2 separate regions of the Homo sapiens genome follow, and region 2 is linked to region 1. Evidence: promoter capture Hi-C in 16 types of primary human blood cells and fetal thymus (Javierre and others, 2016). All regions are on one chromosome and are shown on one strand. Each heading gives the region's core, a stretch centred on a gene start or on the middle of the fragment in contact. The rest is flanking DNA. Distances are from core to core; before and after follow the strand shown.

Region 1 (4,334 bases), core at 1,698-4,197:
AAGGAAACCAAAAACCAGGATTTTAAAAGCTACAGTTAATCAGACAAAAATCCTTTAAAATGTTTTCCAGGGTCTATTAAGAGATTAGAATTCTTCCCTTTAAATCCATTAAAAAAAAAAGAAAGAAATGTATACTATATGGTGTTTAAAAAATGAGGTGAGTGAGTCTACAGAGTAAGTGAAATACATGACCACAAAACTGTATTAAGTATGGAGTGTATTCATTTAATTTTTGTAATTTTAGCAGTTATGCAAAAGGACCAGTTCTACATAGGACAAATACTTGTATTTCAATCTCTGATGACTACAAATACATGCCCAAAAGTTGCAGGGGGGGAAGAAAGCAAAAGACAGAAACAGAACAAAAACATATTCCAAAGGACTAACCAAAGGAGAAAGCAGTGAAAATGATGACACAGGGATAGAAAAGTTTACAAACAGACTGGCTTTTTCTTTTTCTGCTTGTCCTTATCCTTTGCTTCTCTCTCCCGTTTGGCAAGTCGCCTCTTAAATTCTTCTGGCATTTTCTCATAACAGTGTTTGCAGACTGGCTTTAGGTCAATTTCAACAAACTTATCCCTTTGAGTAGGACAAAGAAGGAATAGAAGAAAGAACAGGGAACAGTTAAAGGAAGAACCTTTACTTTCAGAAGGCCTGAACAGAAAGAGGAAATAAGAAATCAAATAATTCTCTTTTTCTAAATTCTAGGATTTTTTTTAAGTGTCTCCCCAAAGTTTTCAGTCTTAGGATTCACACTGGACAAAACCGTACACTTACTTGAGTGTTAATTTAGTGTTGCAGGTAGAACAGGCAAAGCAGTTCACGCACCAGGCCTTATTAAGAGCAGAGACCACTGGAGAAAGAGGAAAGAGATCTGGTCACATGGAAATACATCAGTATGGGGAGCAGGGCAGCTTAGAATTTCAACTCCAAAACAGAACTACGACTGTGTCTGTGGCACTTGGTGGAGGTTCTCAAGAACCTTTTTTTTTTTTTTTTTTTTTTTTAAATGAGACAGGGTCTTGCTCTATAGCCCAGGCTGGAGTACAGTGGCACAATCTTGGCTCACTGTAACCCCAACCTCCCAGGCTCAAGTGATCCTCCCACCTCAGCCTCCTGAGTAGCTGGGACTACAGGTGCATGCCACTACACCTGGCTAATTTTTTTTTTTTTTTTTTTTTTGAGACGGAATCTCGCTCTGTTGCCAGGCTGGAGTGCAGTGGCGCAATCACGGCTCACTGCAACCTCCGCCTCCTGGGTTCAAGCGATTCTCCTGCCTCATTTTCCCAAGTAGCTGGGACTACAGGTGCGTGCCACCATGCCCAGCTAATTTTTGTATTTAATAGAGACGGGATTTCACCATGTTGGCCAAGATGGTCTCAATCTCTTGACCTTGTGATCCGCCCGTCTTGGCCTCCCAGAGTGCTGGGATTACAAGCGTGAGCCACTGCGCCCGGCCTATACCTGTCTAATTTTTGTATTTTTTATAGAGACACGGTCTTGCCATGTTTCCCAGGACGGTCTTGAACTCCTGGGCTCAAGCAATCTACCTGCCTCGGTCTCCCAAAATGCTGAGATTATAGGCATGAGCCACCATGCCCAGCCAAGAACCTCTTTCCTGAGAGCTTCTTTTCTTTTGTTTTTCAGACAGGGTCTCGCTCTGTTGTCCAGGCTGTATTGCAGTGGTGCGATCACAGCTCGAACTCCTGGGCTCAAGCAATCTTCTCCTCTCGTTCTCCTGTGTAGCTGGGACCATAGGTGTGTGCTACCACACCTGGCTAATTTTTTATTTTGTAGAGATGGAGGTCTTGCTCTGTTGCCCAGGCTGGTATCGAACTCCTGGCCTCAAGAAATTCTCCTGTCTCGGCCTCCTTAAGTGCTGGGATTACAGGTATAAGCCACCACACCCGGCCCTCAACCTTTATGTATACAGTTGTTGCTCAGTATGTGCAGGATACTGTTTCTAGGATGCTGTGAGGATACCAAAATCTCAGACGCTCAAGTCCCTGATATAAAATGCATATAACCTATGTACATTGTCTTGTATACATTTATTTATTTTTTTTGAGACGAAGTTTTTGCTCTTGTTGCCCAGGCTGGAGTGCAATGGTGTGATCTTGGCTCACAGCAACCTCTGCCTCCCGGGTTCAGGTGATTCTCCTGTCTCAGCCTCCCGAGTAGCTGGGATCATAGGCATGCACCACCACACCCAGCTAAGTTTTTGTATTTTTAGTAGAGATGGGGTTTCACCATGTTGGCCAGACTGCTCTTGAACTCTTGACCTCAGTTGATCTGCCCGCCTTGGCCTCCCAAAGTGTTGGGATCACAGGCGTGAGCCACTGAGCCTGGTCCTATCTCGTATACTTTAGATCATCTCTAGGTTAATTATAATGCCTAGTACAATGTAAATGATATGTAAATAGTCATTATACTGTACTATTTGTACTGTTATATTGTTATTTTTCTCTAAATATTTTTGATCCATAGTTGGTTGAATCCACGGATGTTTGGATCCAGCCCCTGGATACGGAGGGCTGACTTTAATCTTCCCCCATCCTTAAGTATCCTGTGAAGTTATAAATGATGTGTGCCATGTCTTACACCAGCAACTGTGCCCCCTTGGCCTGGGCACATGTGGCAACTGTCCATGCACCATGTTGTTTAGGTGAGCTTGCTGTTTCTGTCCCTACTGCTGTTGGCCCAACATGGAAATATGAACTAGGTAAATAATTTTCAAAAATCCAGACATTAACTTATTTGCCCCTGTAGGAGTCTTTTTTCCAGAGCTGATGATAAGAAGACAGTTTCCTTTGCAGCTTCTTTCACCTGGCATCTATTTCACAGAGGAGGGAGGTAAGTTTTATTTTCAATGGCACTAAAGATTGTTTTCCTGGATTGTTTTCACAAACTGCACATGAACAGTGTTTCAAAAGTATTTCCTGAATTAGGTGATGTCTGCAGGGAGCCATGAATCATGCTGAAAACAGGATTGTTCAAAACTTTGCCAGGAAGTCTCTGGCAGAAGTGTGTTAGCGAGTCTTAGCAAACACAGCTGCTTCCTTTCTGTTCCAATCAATCAGCCCAGCCTAATTACCACAGTACAAGGGTGGTAAGTCCTAGATATGCTTGCTGATAACTGCCAGCTTTTAGCATGTGCAGGTTAAAGTGCCTCTTCCTAACTACGATAGCAGATTAAACTGTTCCTAATAAACGTTGTTCTAGAGCTTCCTGAAACTGGACACAAACAGGTCTTAGGGTCCACCAGGGACAGTTCCCATGATTGCTGGCATACAACACTGCAGCAGTGGCCGAAAGTAGTGTCATAAATCAGTAACAAATCCAACTCTTTGATATTATCATCTTACTGCTACAGATTACTTGGAAAATACGCCAAAGATAGAGAAAAAGTAACTGATAACGATCACATTTCAAACCATACAATCACCAACCTGAATTTCCACATTACCCAAGTGTTTTTGTGTCAAAGTGGCACCAATCTAAAACTCACACAGATACTTACCATCACCTTCTATAACACGATTGCAGTGGAAGCAAACATCACCAAATAGCTGAAAATAAAAAAAGGTGGTCAAAGTTCAAGATGTGTTAGAATTTTTAGAACACTGAACATTTAAAAATAGCTGGCTATCTAAATTGAGGATTTATCACTACTAGAGAAATTTAGTAAAAGTTCTTTGACAAGTTTTTACTTCTTACAATGAAAGTAATTCACTCTCATCAATTAAAAGAAAAACTTTCCAGATGACAGTTTGAACACCCAAATAAGTGATGCAAAATATAGAAATCTGTGAGTCCATATGGATAAGAAATAGATAAATGAATAAACCTATAGACGGGAGAGGAGGTGGGTTCTTGCTCAGGCAGAGCGCTGAGGACCAGACTATGGGTGGAGGGCATGGGGCTGGAGAAGTGTCGTTTGCAGCTGGCGCAGAGACAAGAATCATCAAGGGGTGCTGAATCTAGGGCAGGTTGATGAGGAACAGGACATTTCCATGGTCATAAAATGATTGCCCACAGATTGCTTCTTTCTTACAGAGGAGGGAAGGAAATTGTAATTCACAGTGATGTTATCAGCCAGCACCATGCCTGGGAGATCACCAGGGCAGGAGAGGTATAAAATGCTCCAGGGGCAAGGTTCTGAGAAGATGCCCTGCCACTGTATGAGGCCACAACCTGCTGTGTATAACCTCATCTAAGCACAGAGAAGCACCAGGTGAACCCAAGTGGAAAGTAGTCTATTAAAAAGGGGTTAGGGGCCCTCTGCATCCCTCCAAAATGTCAATGTCATCAAAAATTTTAAAAGACTCTGGAAA
Region 2 (4,660 bases), core at 2,161-4,660, 390 kb after region 1:
AAAATGAGTGATAGAACTTCGGAGCTGAAAGGGTCCTTACAGAAAATGTAACAGTACATGCTTGCTAGAGGTTGAATAAAATAATCTGGCCCAGCTGCTTCATGGAATGGATGAGAAAACTAGGTGCCCAGATTAGTGAGGGCAGTTTTCATGGTGGCTTCTGCTTCCAGATTGAGCTGAGCCCTTTAAGATGAAGACAATTTTTGGAAAACGAAAGACAAATTATTTATGAAAATTTTCAAATATGAGAAGCAGTTGTATTTATAATACATCAAAGAAGGTGGAGTTTGGACAGTACTCCTGAGATAATGGTATGATCAAATTCAGGAGAGGAGGGATAAGAACAAACATTTCTTGCAGGCCTTCTATGTTAGGTCCTTCGTGGACTTTTCTTTTTCTTTCTTAATTCATATGACAATTTTATTAGGAAGGAATAATTATCACCCTCATAAATGTGAGGAAGCTGAGAGTCACACGATCAATAACTTGCCCAGGATCGCAGCCAACATCTGTATACGAATCCTATGTTCCTTCTTTAAAAATTGCCTCTTGTTTTTTTTTATTGTGAATTTAAAGTTATACATTGCAGAAACTTTGGAAACAGTCCAAATGTACAAGGAAAACATCTATCACACAAGAGTTGTTATTATTTTGATGTATTTCTATCTGTCTTTTTCAAATGTATATTGTTGTAGGCAGAATAATGGCCCTAAAGATGTCCACGTCCTAATTCCTAATACATTACATTGTGTGGCAAAGGGCTTTGCAGATGGAATTTAGGTTAAGAACCTTAAGGCAATGAGCATGTCCTGTATTATCCCGGTGGGTCTAATGTGACCACAAGGGCACTTAAAAGTGGACAAGGGTGTAGAAGAGCAGTCAGAGAGTCGTGTGGCAGAAGAAGTGGCTGGAGAGTTTGGAAGCATGAGAATGACTCAACTTGCCATTGATGGCTTAGAGACAAAGGGGAACACAAGACAAGGCATGACCTCCAGAAGCTGAGAATGAACCTCAGCCAACAAGCAAATGGGACCTCCATCCTACAGCCACATGAATCTGAATTCTGCCAACAACCAGAATGAGCTTGGAAGGGATTCTTCTTCAGACCCTCCAGAAGGGAACGCAGCCCTGCCAACACCTTGATTTTACCCAGAGACACCTGTTTGGACTTCTGACTTACAGAGGTGTGAGATAATAAACTTGTATTGTCTTAAGCTGCTAAATTTTTGATAATTTGTTATGGCAGTGATAGTGATAGAAAACTGTTTATACATAGTTATGAACAAAAAGTATACATATATATAAACATAAAACTACAAAACACTTTTTGGATACTGCTGTGGTTTGGATGTGGTTAGTCCCCACCAAAACTCTCTGTTGAAGTTTAACTGCCAGTGTGGCAGTGCTAGGACACGGGGTCTTGTGAGAGGTGTTTGGGCCATAAGGGTGGATTCCACATGAGTAGATTAATGCCATCTCCCAGAAGTGGGTGAGTTTGGTCCCTTTATACATGCCTGCTTGCCTTTCTATTTCTTCACCATGTCTTGATGCAGCATGGCCCTCACGAGAAGCTGAGCAGATGCCAGCACCATGCTCTTGGACTTTTCAGCCACCAGAATCATGATTCAAAATAAACCTCTTATATTTATAAATTACCCAGCCTCAGGTATTTTGTTATAGCAACATAAAATGGACTAAGACGGACATTATCGTGGTTTGAATTGTGTCTCTCTAAGTTCATATGTTGAAGTCCTAATTCATAGTATATTAGCATGTGGCTGTATTTGGAGATAATGTCTTTAAATAGGTGATTAAGTTAAAATGAGGCTGCTAGGATGAGACCTATTCCAATCTGGTATCCTTGTAATGAGAGGAGATTAGGACACACAAGGCAACACCAGGGATGTGTGCACATGGAGGAAAGACCATGTAAGGACACAGTGAGAAGGTCCTCCATAGGGTGGGGGTGAGGGGATGGTGAGTCCAATTCTGGGGTTGAGTCTGATGTATTTATGGGACTTCCCAATGTACACCTGTAGGCAGGTGTACATGTGAGCTTAGGGCTCTGGCCTTGAACTAATGCCCTGAGAATAATCCACGCAACACATTGACCAACTCTGTGGTAGGCGTTGTGCTCTGGGCAGGTAGCTGATGACCGAGGGCCTGGGCACAGCTGTGAACATGTGTGGAAGGGCACCTGCTGCTGCTGAGGACCAGGGCGGTTAAGGGCTTGGCTGTCCAGTGAACTATGGATCCCACTGTATTGCTCTTGTTGGAGGCCTGCACGGGGAGTGATAGAACCTGGCTAAAGCTGGGAGAAGGAGATGCAGCAAGAGATTGAGGCAGCTGGGTAGTGCAGTGGGAGCAGAGGGATCTGCCAGTTCCCACAGGAGAAGTCCCAAGTCCTTCTCACCCTCCCCAGGCCCCTCATTGCTGGGCCACATCAGCACATGGTTCCTGCCCTTGGAGAGTCAGGCATGTAGACACATACATTTCCCCTTGAGCAGCCAGCAGGGACATTTTCATCATATCAGGCCAGATCACTATGGCCTCCTTTGTGGAGGCATCCCTGACTCTGTAAACAGAAGTAATCACTCCTTTCCATGGGATCCTATAGTATTTTGTGTGCAAATTTTATAGGTCTTACTCCACGTCCTACAATTACTTGCTTATAAGTCTGGACCCTTGGAGCACAGGATCTGGTTCAGTCCCCTTGCAGGCCCAGCATGTGTCTTAGTCAATGGCTGGCATAAGAGGAGGGCTGTCATGGAAGAAGAAATAGTCTTGGCCAGAGAAGTTGAGCTGGCCCTGGAGGAGGATGGGACAGGGAGGGTATTTGGGAAAAGATCAGGGTGGGAGACAGAGATAGTATTACAGGAGAGAGAGCTTTTGGAGGTGATTTGAGGGGGGTCCTGAATTTCTAGGTCTGAATTTTTAGGCTGGAGGCTGTTAACAAAACTCTTTTATATTATTTTATCAGATTCTTAGGATCTTTTCTGGTTTGAATAAATGCATCTGTAAAGCCACACCTATGTGGCTAAAGGTTAAAAAATAAATTAACGAGTTAGGTACAGAATTTCTTTTAAGCCATATTCTTACCTTCAAGTTCCAGCTGAAAGTCAGCAGCTCAAAGGCCCACTCAAGGGTCAGTGGGCACGGAAAGGACTTTCACAGGAAGCAGACGGCAATTGCAGAGGCTCAAATTACTACTGTGTCAGAGTTACGGGGGCGCTCAGCAGGTAGCCAGCACTTTGGGAGGCTCTCAGCTTCAGTGTGGGAAGTTGAAGCTTTTACTGGAAGAATCCGGATTGAACAGAAACAAACCCTGTGACCTGGCCCTGGGAGGGAGAACTTCTCACTGTACCATGATCACTCATGTGACCCTGACTGCTGTGCAAATACCAACTCCCTCTAGTTCATATGAACTAAGGGCACACTCTACTCCTCCTCTCGGTCACCAGCTAGAGTTTTTCACATCTTTCCTGGCCCTCAGCTGCCTGGCCCCTCCCTCCTCCCACTGGCCTCGAAGCTTAAACAGGTGGGGGCTGGGGGGAAATGGAAGGTTGGCTCTAGGACCAGATGCATCAGGCTTCAGGTAGGCTCCTGCTTATTTGGTGAACTCCCTTTTCCTTCCTCCTTAGCCTGAGATTTAATTTCTGCATCTATGAAGTGTGGGTAATACTGCCTGTCTCCAATCCATGCTTTAAGATTGAAAGCAACAATGTTGATGAATACACTTTGCAGAGCAAATAGTAAGTGCTTAAAACTGCTGGTTCTTCTTTCCTTTCTTCCCAAGTTGTATTCATCCACACCGAAAATGCAGAGAGGATAGAACAAAAGTCTAGAGCTTAGGTGTGTACTTATTTTTTCTTTGCCTTATTGTACAAAAGGTACACTTTAGTGGAGGCAGATTATATTCCATGGTGTCTTTGGTTACCTGGGAAATTAAATGGATCAAGTGTTAATGATCTCTGAACTGCTACTCTTCTGCCAGCCCCAACCTTGTATCTACCCCAGTGCTTTCCTTTCTGGAATTGAAGCATAATTCTGCACCCCATCTGCCCTTCTTGCCAAAGCTTTCCTTGTCTTCTTTGACCCTGAACCTCCTAATGCTTCTTTGCCGACACTTCTTCTTCCTCCTTGTTTCCAAAGGGCTCTTTTTTTCCCAATAAATTGAACTTTCTTTTTCTTTCTTTTTTCTTTTTTTTTTTTTTTTTGAGATGGTGTTTCACTCCTGTTGCCCAGGCTGGAGTGCAATGGTGCAATCTTGGCTCACTGCAACCTCCGCCTCCCGGGTTCAAGCGATTCTCCTGTCTCAGCCTCCTGAGTAGCTGGGACTACAGGCGTGCGCCACCATGCCCAGCTAATTTTTTTTTGGTATTTTTAGTAGAGACGGGGTCTCACCATGTTGGCCAGGCTAGTCTCCAACTCCTGCTCCCAGGTGATCTGCCCGCCTTGACCTCCCAAAGTGCTGGGATTACAGGCATAAGCCACTGCGCCCGGCTGAACTTTATTTTTCTACTTCTGCTCTCTTTCCAGTTCCACTTATCCCAGTGCTGTCAATTTTCAGCCCCATAGGGCTGATTCACAGTTCTTAGTGCAACCTCACATTTTCTCTGCAGTTAAAGTCCCTAAGTCTACTAAAGTGTCTGCCAGTATC

Evidence for each region. The method cuts DNA at HindIII sites, captures the fragments that hold promoters and counts their contacts. A CHiCAGO score of 5 or more calls a contact.
Region 2: a contact is called between a fragment that was not itself captured here and the fragment with the promoter of LIMS1-AS1 in region 1, in 5 of 17 cell types (M0 macrophages, M1 macrophages, total B cells and 2 more). The highest score is 8.6, in M0 macrophages.

What each region holds. Positions count from the first base shown.
Region 1 is chr2:108,677,214-108,681,547 of GRCh38, reverse strand. LIMS1-AS1 (LIMS1 antisense RNA 1) reads left to right here and starts at 2,947. Exons shown (of 3, transcript NR_149074.1): 1 at 2,947-3,109; 2 at 4,057-4,234. It overlaps LIMS1 (LIM zinc finger domain containing 1), which reads right to left. Exons shown (of 10, transcript NM_001193483.3): 8 at 3,521-3,569; 9 at 778-853. The HindIII fragment of the contact is 5,789 bases long and covers 1-4,334 here.
Region 2 is chr2:108,287,510-108,292,169 of GRCh38, reverse strand. SULT1C2 (sulfotransferase family 1C member 2) reads right to left here and starts at 3,275. Exons shown (of 8, transcript NM_001056.4): 1 at 3,100-3,275. The HindIII fragment of the contact is 242 bases long and covers 3,290-3,531 here.